2 separate regions of the Homo sapiens genome follow, and region 2 is linked to region 1. Evidence: promoter capture Hi-C in human tissues and cell types (Jung and others, 2019). All regions are on one chromosome and are shown on one strand. Each heading gives the region's core, a stretch centred on a gene start or on the middle of the fragment in contact. The rest is flanking DNA. Distances are from core to core; before and after follow the strand shown. Region 1 holds the start of OR4D2 (olfactory receptor family 4 subfamily D member 2). Region 2 has its middle 32 kb from the start of SRSF1.

Region 1 (4,647 bases), core at 654-3,153:
GAGTTTGATTGAATAACTGGAAACTATAGCCTAGTCAAGTTGACACATAACACAGACCATCACAAAGGGAGAATGATTAATTATCAATGATGCTGGGCTTCCTGCATGAGAATTTACATGATATTTCCTCTACACGTGTCCTGTATCCGTTTAGTGGCTTGACATTATAATAGTAGCTAAGTCTGACAAACATTTATTTTCTTAGAAATGTGATACATATAGAAATAATTTTCTCAGCTCAATTTTCCATGACTGAGTCTTTAGCATAATTACTCCATCCAGGCCATTCATACACTGGCAACCATTATACTGGCTAGTGGTTGCAGTAAAGATGAGCTTTGATGGACATTTTACGACCTACCTGTACTTTTGACAGGGGAAATATATAAACTGGAACCTACCAGGTCTCTATTACTGAAAGCTAAATCGGAATCATAAAGAATTAATCCAGGTAATTCAAAATCACCCATCTGAGAGTCAATAACATTAACAAGGCCTGTGCCCATCCCCACCATCAATCTAGACTACTTTCCTGAGTGGCTCAATTTTAAAGTAGACTAAAGCTCCAAATAATGGGAAGAATTTGTGTTTTTTTTAAATTGACATCTCTTGTATGTGAAAGAACGTCACTTCGTGTTCTTATCCCCAGAGGCAGAGTCTTTATTTTGCCAAGTATAAACATTCGCAATGAAAGAACTCAGACCAACCTGAGAACCTCACGTGGATCAGAGAGCTGTGAGAAATCACACAGATTTTACAGCACATCAAGCTTACAGTGTTGGTTAATTCCAATTTTTAATCAGTTCCTCATAATTAGAAAATATATGGGCTTCTTGTGCCAATCCTTGTATTAAAGGGAGTAATAATTGACATGTAAATAATGCTAGCACTTTGTAGATGGTGTGAGTATAATTGATATGGGTAGTGAATCAACTGTGGGGGTATTGGTTGACAAGATGAAGAACAAGATTTATGGGGTAATTAAGTTTTCATTTTAGTATGCAGACATTTTCCCATCCATGACGTTGCCTATGTAAAGATCAATTCAGTTTAAAAGGAGAAGAAATCAAACCAGTTACCTTGACAACACCATGAAAGAGAACTATCCATTGTGCTGAAGAGCAAGTCGTTGGTTCTCAATGTCTGGTCCCTGGAACAGGTGCATCAGCATTATCTGAGAACTTGCTACAAATGCAAATTCTTGGTCTTACCATTGATGTACTGAATGAGAAATTCTGGGCTGGGAACAGAAGTCTGCCTTTTAACAAGGCCTTCAGGTAATTCTCTCAAGGGTAGGTGTCACTGGTCTAAGAAAGAAATTCTCCTAAAACTCTCAGAGTCTCCTTTTTTTTGAAGACCCTCTTGTCCTTTTGGATCTTGGCCTGAATATTACCCATTCCTCAAATCTCTAAAATTTTCAATGTGCTTGGTACTTTGGGCCCCCCAAGGAAGACCTCTCAAAGAGTGTGTGCTTTTGAGACATTTAGAAACTTTTTAACAACTCCCATTGCTCCCTTGGCCCCAGTGATAATCAGCCCAGCTCAGCTTCCTGAGCCCTGTCCAATAGTTTCTCCCAAAGGATATTCCCCCTTCCCCTGGGGTCTCACCCATGGTATTATTCATGAAGTAAGGGCAGGAGCTAAGAAACTGTGAGGCTGAAGCAAAGGATCTCCAAGAAGATGTACACTGAAGCCCCATTCTGGGCTAAAGGGAGGTGAGAGACCAGTGTTTCCTCAGCTGCACAGAGATCAGCTGTAAGAAAGATCTTGCAACACCTGCTAGAGGGTGGGAGTAATAAGCAAGTGACATAGACCTGACGATAGTAAGTCTAAAGGATGAGCAGAGACTCAAGAAAAACTGCAAGGGGAATGTGATGTTGAAAACGGATGCCTCCGATTACATAGGAAAACAACAAAGCACAGAATTCGCCCTATGAGACTTAGAGGGAGGATGCTCACAGCAAAGGACATCAACGGTGAGGAAAATCACAAGATTCTCGACATTGTCACATAAAACAAAGTCACATTTACCTGCTAATATATTAAGTTGGCAAACATTTCTGAGCAAGTGCTAAATCAGAGATGCTGTCATAGACTCTGGGCTTACTAAGTTATTGAATTTACAATCTAGTTAAGAGAAGCAATAGAAAAAATGATAAATGCTATAATGGAGGTATTTATCAAATGCTATTGGAACACAGAGAAATAAGGAATTAATTCTGCATGAGAGAAATGGGGGGAGGAGTCAAAGGGAAAGTGATATTTCTCTTATCGCCTCTAGGTTGAGAAGGTAGCAAAAGGCATTTCAGGAAACAGGATTTATTACCAAAGATATGAAAATAATGAAATATACTGCCTACATGGAAGCTATGAGTTCTTTGAACAGCAATCAGTTCCCAGGTGACAGTGATACTGATTAGAAAGGTATAGGGAGGCTATTTTTTATAGTCTTGTATGAAATGCTGAGAGAGAGTTGCATGCACGTATGTAGGTATGTTTTTCCACCCTCAGTTTATCCACAGAGCATTTTAGGTGGCTTCTGAGAGTTTGAGTTTTAAGCTGTGAGCAAATCAAATATTATAACAATGAGGAATATGATCACATCTGAGTCAGAGGGGTCTCATGGACAGCTGTGTAGAAGGTGTCCTGGAGTGAGGCCAGGCGCGGTGGCTCATGCCTGTAATCCCAGCACTTTGGGAGGCGGAAGCGGGCGGATCACGAGGTCAGGAGATCGAGACCATCCTGCTAACACAGTGAAACCGTGTTACAAAAAAAATTAGCCGGGCGAGGTGGTGGGCGCCTGTAGTTCCAGCTACGCGGGAGGCTGAGGTAAAAGAATGGCGTGAACCCGGGAGGCGGAGCTTGCAGTGAGTGAGCCGAGATCGCGCCACTCCAGCCTGGGCGACAGCGAGACTCCGTCACAAAAAAAAAAAAAAAAAAAAAAAGAAGGTGTCCTGGAGTGGAAGTAAACTGAAGGAGCAGAATAAGATTAGAATGACCTATAATATTGTAGATAATAGATTGCAATAGGCCAGGTAAGAGAGGGTAAGAGAGATTGAGACAGGGCAGGGGGAGGGGGGAGACCACTGACCCCCTCCCCTGTCACCCTCCATCTTCTTCTTCTTTTTTTTTTGTTTTTGATTTTTTGAGACAGAGTCTCGCTCTGTCACCCAGGCTGGAGTGCAGTGGCATGACCTCCACTCACTGCAGCCTCCAACCAGCTTCAAGCGATTCTCCTGCCTCAGCCTCCCAAGTAGCTGAGATTACAGGTGTGTGCCACCACGCCCGGCTAATTTTTTTGTATTTTTAGTACAGATCCGGAGTTTCACCATGTTGGCCAGGCTGGTCTCAAACTTCTGACTTCAAGTGATCCATCCGCCTCCGCCTCCCAAATTTCTGGGACTACAGGCGTGAGCCACCTCTCCCGGCTCCTCCATCTTCTTCTGTCCCTTTAGTCCCGTTTTCTCCACCTCCCCAGCACTTTTCCACTTCCTTTACCTTCACTTGCTCTATTCCTTCATCTCCCTTTATTCCTTTGTCTATTTCTATTTGTTTTCTTTCAACAACTTCCTTTGTCTCCCACCCTTGGATTCAGTAACATCTTGTAAAATTCCTGTTTCATTCAGAAGCTCTCTGAGTCCCCTTCATACAATATTCATCATCTATTTCTCAATCCAATGACTCTCCCTCCCTTTTCTCCCTCTTGTCTCAGCACCACCACATATGCCTCACTCATAAGGGGCCGCCCACAGTGGAGGGCAGGGGAACTACTGGATGTCTCAGGCATCCAGCTGCATCCAGTGTCTTCCTTGTGCTGAACTTGTGCACCTGATAGCTATTCACCCATGCAGCAGTCAACACCAAGAGCTTTTTAAGTTAACTGTCATTAAGAATGGGTACTGCAGGGCACAAATAAATTGTGAGATCCAGATATAGGCTTTGGACTTAATAGTTGAATTGTGGAGGGAAAATATAGACAAGGAAAATCCATTAACACGATGATGTATTAAATGTCATGTGAAAAATAATTGGCAAAGAATCTTATTACAGAGTGGAAGAGAGGATATCTTTAGATTAAGAGAATTCACACAGGTGAGTAATTGCCATTGATTATTCCATACACTGTTTTAGGAACTTTATATCTATCATTCTACTTAAGTCCTCAGAAAATTCTACAAAGCAGGTATTTTTATTTCTACCTTACAAATTCCCGTGAAAACTGAGGCCCAGAAAGATTAAGTAAGTTACTCATGGTCAAATCACAATGAAATGAAAGACCTGAAATTTGACTTCAGATGTATCTGACTCCAAGTGTCTTCCCACCACTATATGAATCTTTGAAAGGCAGGTTGTATATACTTCTGGATGGCGTTAAGATTTCAGGAATGTATATTCCAGCACCCACTTGTAAACGATCCAGAGACAAGACAGCACCTAGTATAATGGTCTACACATAAGGATGCTCATCATATGGGCCTAAAACCTTGGTTCTGAGCCCCTGAGCCCTGAAAGGGAAAGTAGTGACTTCATGTATCTGTGTCTGTGGTTCATTTTCTTCAGGTGTATGGAGAAAACACCATGGAAACAGGGAACCTCACGTGGGTATCAGACTTTGTCTTCCTGGGGCTCTCGCAGACTCGGGAGCTCC
Region 2 (5,164 bases), core at 1,987-4,486, 130 kb before region 1:
CGGTGGCTCACACCTGTAATCCTAGCACTTTGGGAGGCCGAGGCGGGCGGATTGCCTGAGTTCAGGAGTTCGAGAACAGCCTGGGCAACATGGTGAAACCTTGTCTCTAATAAAATACAAAAAGTTAGCTGGGCATGGGGGCATGCGCCTGTAGTCCCAGCTACTCGTGAGGCTGAGGCAGGAGAATTGCTTGAACCTGGGAGGCGGAGGTTGCAGTGAGCCGAGATCATGCCACTGCACTCCACCCTTAGTGACAGAGCGAGACTCCATCTCCAAAAAAAAAAAAAAAATAATAATAATAATAATAATAGAAGTTAGATAGTAGCAAGTTGATGAGGTCGTGAAGAAATGGGAACCCTCATACACTGCTGGTAGGAGTGTAAAAGGTGCAGCACTTGGGGAAACAATCTGGCCGCTCGTCACGTGGATAAACAGAGTTACCACATAATCTGACATTTCCACTCCTAGGTATATATCCCCCAAAGAAGGAAAATACATGGCCACACAAAAGCTTGTACATGAATGTTTATAGCAGCATTATTTACAACAGCCAAAAGGTGGAAACAACCCGTTTCTATCAACTAATGAGTAGATAAGCACAATGTACATACCCATGCAGCAGAATATTCTCTCACAATAAAAAGAAACGAAGTACTGATACATGCTACAATATGAATGAAACTTGAAAACCTTATGCTAAGGGAAATAAGCTAATTAGACAAATCCATAGAGACAAAGTAGATCAGTGGTTGCCTAGGGTATGAATTGGGAGAAAATCGGAGGTGACTGCCAATGGGTATAGAGTTTTTGGGGTGGTTAATGAAAATGGTTTAGATTTATTAGGCAATAAATCTAAATGGCAATTATAATGGCAATTAATGGCAAAAACTAATACTAGTTTCTTCACAGCTTCCTAAACTTGACTTAGCACTACTTCCCTGGGTCTGCCATTTACCAAGATCTCCCTGAATTAGTCCTACCATTGATTCACTATTACTGTATGGATTTTCCTTTGCTTATCTGTAAAGAGAGAATTCAAGGGTGAATGGAGTCCAGGTCCTCTCACCCCCCTGCCCTGCCCCAGTTCTTACATTTTACCTTCACTTTCTCTTAAGCTTTTTCTTTATTTTTATTTTTGAGATGGAGTCTCACTCTGTCATCCCGGTTGGAGTGCAGTGGGCCAATCTCAACTCACTGCAACCTCCATCTCCCAGGCTCAAGCGATTCTCCTGCCTCAGCCTCCCAAGTAGCTGGGACTACAGGCACCTGCCACCACACCCAGCTAATTCTTTCTATTTTTAGTAGAGATAGGGTTTCATGATGTTGGCCAGGCTGGTCTCGAACTCCTGGCCTCAAGTGGTCTGCCCGCCTTGGCCTCCCAAAGTGCTGGGATTACAGGCGTGAGCCACCGTGGCTGGCCCTCTTAAGCCTTTTCTATGGGCCACTCGTAATAACTCATCATACTGCTTGCTGCCTGCATGTTACTTCCTATTTTTGTAGCATGGTGCTGAAGGGTAGATAGGTGGAGGGATACTTTGGAACTCATGTCAAAGGCAAGGAGATAAGGAGAACAAGGATTAGACCCTGGGCCCTTGCATTCTCTGTGTTCTGTCATTATCAAACCTCACTCTCAGGAGCACAAAGCTGAGTGACTGTGAGCACTTGGTGTGGTTATTTATACCTTATCGTACTATGAATCACCTGTGCCAAGCATTGTGCTAAGGGCTTCACATGCATTATTCTATTTAATCCTCATGATAATCCTATTGTTATTTTTCATTTGATAGATAATAAACTGAGGCACAGAGAGGTTACGACTCTAGCCTATGGTCATCCAACTAACAGAACAGCTGTCTAGGATTGGTACCCAGGGAGCCCAGTCCTTAATGCAAATGTTTGCATTTTTGATGCTCCTATGTCCATCTGAATGGGTTTCTCAAATAGACTTATGATTGAAAGGGAGGGTAGGCACTGTGATCCTTGATCCCCAGAGTGGAAGCAGAACAGTTGCCAAGAGCAGATAAGCAGGCAAAATCTCAACGTCTTTGGCAAGGTTCTTGTTATGTGGTAGTCTCTAGCCTTTCCTGAGTGATGAAAATTTAGTCGGAAAATACTCTAGCTAAACCTCTGCCATTTCTCTCTTTTAGAATCCTATTCTTGTGTTAGTGAGGCATGGTGGCACACACCTGTAGTCCCAGGTACTCAGGAGGCTGAGGCAGGAGGATCACCTGAGCCCCGGAGATTGAGGCTGCAGTGAGCCAAGACTGTGCCACTGTGTTCCAGCCTGAGCAACAGAGCAAGACCTTGTCTCTCTTAAAAAAAAAAAAAAATCCATTCTTGTGGCCCCAAATGAACCCAGAAACTTTTGTGTCTAATTAAAGCTTGGACAGCAGAATCTTTAAAATCCTTCAACCATTTGAAGCAGGGCCTCAAGTCAAGCTGTTGCCATAAACAACACAAATTTGGAGACCCAGAATATGCTAAGAAAAAAAAGACAAAGTTTCCTTTGCTGGTGGAGATGCTCAAAAGCAAAGAAAATTTGAGATGCTCAAAAGTAATGCAAAGTTAAATTTGGTGGAGCTGGCACGTCACCTGCACCTGGATAAAAATTCAAGCAGATTCCATAACCTTCTAGGTCTTTCTTAGTCACCTTATGTATGAATACAGTCTCAACTCAGTAATTAAAATGTTTATATAATCATTATATGTCTCTCCTTCATCTTTGCTGAAAATCCGAGGAGAGAAATCACATTTAGAGGGTGACACAAAAGGTAAAACGATCTGTCATGGGATTTAGGTTCACTTGGGTCTGGAATTGCCTTTTAGGTAATTCTAGACCCAAGTGAACCTAAATCCCATGACAGATCGTTTTATCCTTTGTGCTACCCTCTAAATATGATTTCTCTCCTTGGGTTTTCAGCAGAGATGAAGGAGAGACATGTAATGATTATATAAACATTTTAGTTACTGAGTTGAGACTGTATTCAGACATAAGCTGACTGGGGCAGTTATAGAATTTTTGAGCTGCAAAAGAAAACTTCAAAATTATCCAGTCTAATAATTTTATGATAGAAGAAAGGAGACCTAGAGATGGAAGCTGCTTCCTGCAGGTCACAGGTCTGAAGAGTGGAGTGGCAGACTCAGAAGAGGTGATTAGGTCTCACAGTGTCAGTCCACTGCCAGCTTCTCTGGCTCATGTGCCTGAGGCTGGTGGGATTCTGCGCACTGGGGGAAGTGTGTGAACAGGTCAGAGGGAAACTTGAAGCCTGTTCAGGGCCAATAAAGAGAGAGGTGCAGCCACAGAAGAAGGAGGGCTGTATGGGAGAAAAGCCCCAGAGAAGATCAAAAAGGTAGACGAGTTGAGCCCTCCCAGGGCAGGAAGATCAATACTTGAGAAACGGGAAAGGTTAAAACAGGGATTTGGGAATATTAATCTGGTGGTGATGTGCAGGCCTCATTTGAGGAGGAAAATTTTGAGGCAAGGAGGCCGCTGGGGACACTATTGCAGTGGGCAGGAGTGTGCCAGAAGTCCTGGGTTCCACTCTTGGCATTTTCATATTTTACTTCCTAATGTTGCATGTATGAGTGTGTATGTATGTGATGGGGCAGGGAGAAGGGACCTGGGGGGTAGGTCTCAGCTTGAATTCAAACTTGCTGGGACATGTCTGATGAACACGTTGGGTTGCCTTCCAGATGCATGACCTCTGAGCCAACTTGAGTAATTTCCACATGCTCTATTTCCATCCTCCCTTGCCCACTAGCATGCTCCAGCTGAAGTGAGTCTGCTTATACCAGGCAGTCAGATGTACAAGGAGGCTATTGATGGCACACTGCGAACCAAGAAGCAAGTGGCACCAATGGCTCCACACCCCCTTCAACCCAGCTCAGGGTAGAATTTCTCCCATCTGGACAAATGGAGCAGATTCTGTGCTCGTGGCTCCTCTTGCACCAAGGCTCAGCCGCATAATTCTCCGTCTCTCCTGTCCAAGGCAAGCTGGCAGAGTCTCAAGTCTCAGGGCATCCTCAGAATAGGCCAGTGGTGTTCCACCGGCTGCAGACCATGACGAAGGCCTGACCTTGGGTAGCAATTTCCCCAGGCCTGTAGAAGCAGGTCTGCTCCTGCCTGGACACTTCCCTCAAGGCTGTGACGTTGAGAGTGGAGATCTGTCTCTCATTGGCCTATCTCCTCCCAATAGCTGAACATCATCCCAGGAGCGGGGTCTATTTATAAATGGCATAACTGTTTCTAGCTTTCGTAGCAAAGCAATTTAACAAATCAGTACATTCTTTGAACAACTGTTACATTAAACAAGCATAACTCATGGGATGTATTTCTAAAGAAACTCAAGTTTCCTCTTTCATTAACCCTTTAAATTTGGTGGAGCTGGCACGTCACCTGCACCTGGATAAAAATTCAAGCAGATCCCATGACTTTCTAGGTCTTTCTTAGTCACCTTTTGTCTGTTCTCAACTCAGTGATTAAAATGTTTATGTAATCGTTAAGACTCCAAATATGACATAAAATTGAGGCTTCTCCCCTCTCCTTCAGTTCAGGCTGGGCACTTAGAGGAGGGGGCACTTTTGTCCCCCCTCTCTCTTCTTTTAAACTGTGATTTCTGATCCTTGCAGTGGAAAGAAGCAGGAAAGCTTCCATGGGATTTGTCCTGCTGTGAGGATCTGGCAGGGAGGTTTCCTATACTTGGCAAGTATTTAATGGTGACACTTTTGTGGGTGGTTTCGGCCCCCCCCCACCCCCCCAATTGCTGGGGACCTCTCAATTCAGGTGATATGCTTTCCTCAGGCTCTCTGCTTACTCCATCCACATCCCTCATAATCTGGCCACACCTCCAGCTTCTCTTGGCTGAGATCTCTTTGTCCCTCCAGGCTACTCTCTCGAGTAGAGTTCTCTGACCACACCAGGGCAGAACCCTCTCTCGGTCATGGCTCACACCTTTGCCCCAGCAACGCTGTGAGTACAGTTACTTCCCATGTGTAACCCTCATGTGTACCTCCCGTGTGTACTCTGCTGTACCTCTTGCCATTTTGGTTTCTCAGGCTTGACACCTATGATTGAGATAGGGATGGGGTAGGACTCGCAGCACAGCTCTCTCCAAAGAAATTCTCATCTAAATCTTCCCCTCAACTCTTTTGTACATATATATTC

The links. Contacts are between HindIII fragments. The study calls those that stand out against the background at their distance.
Region 2: a fragment that was not itself captured here is called in contact with the fragment with the promoter of OR4D2 in region 1 in 2 of the 25 tissues and cell types used here (small bowel and spleen).

Annotation. Positions count from the first base shown.
Region 1 is chr17:58,165,079-58,169,725 of GRCh38, forward strand. It overlaps OR4D2 (olfactory receptor family 4 subfamily D member 2), which reads left to right and starts at 1,904. Exons shown (of 2, transcript NM_001004707.4): 1 at 1,904-1,975; 2 at 4,560-4,647. The coding sequence starts at 4,578. The HindIII fragment of the contact is 7,868 bases long and covers 1-4,647 here.
Region 2 is chr17:58,036,488-58,041,651 of GRCh38, forward strand. No RefSeq gene overlaps it. Among named protein-coding and RNA genes, the nearest start is that of SRSF1, 32 kb to the left of the region's middle. The HindIII fragment of the contact is 4,846 bases long and covers 814-5,164 here.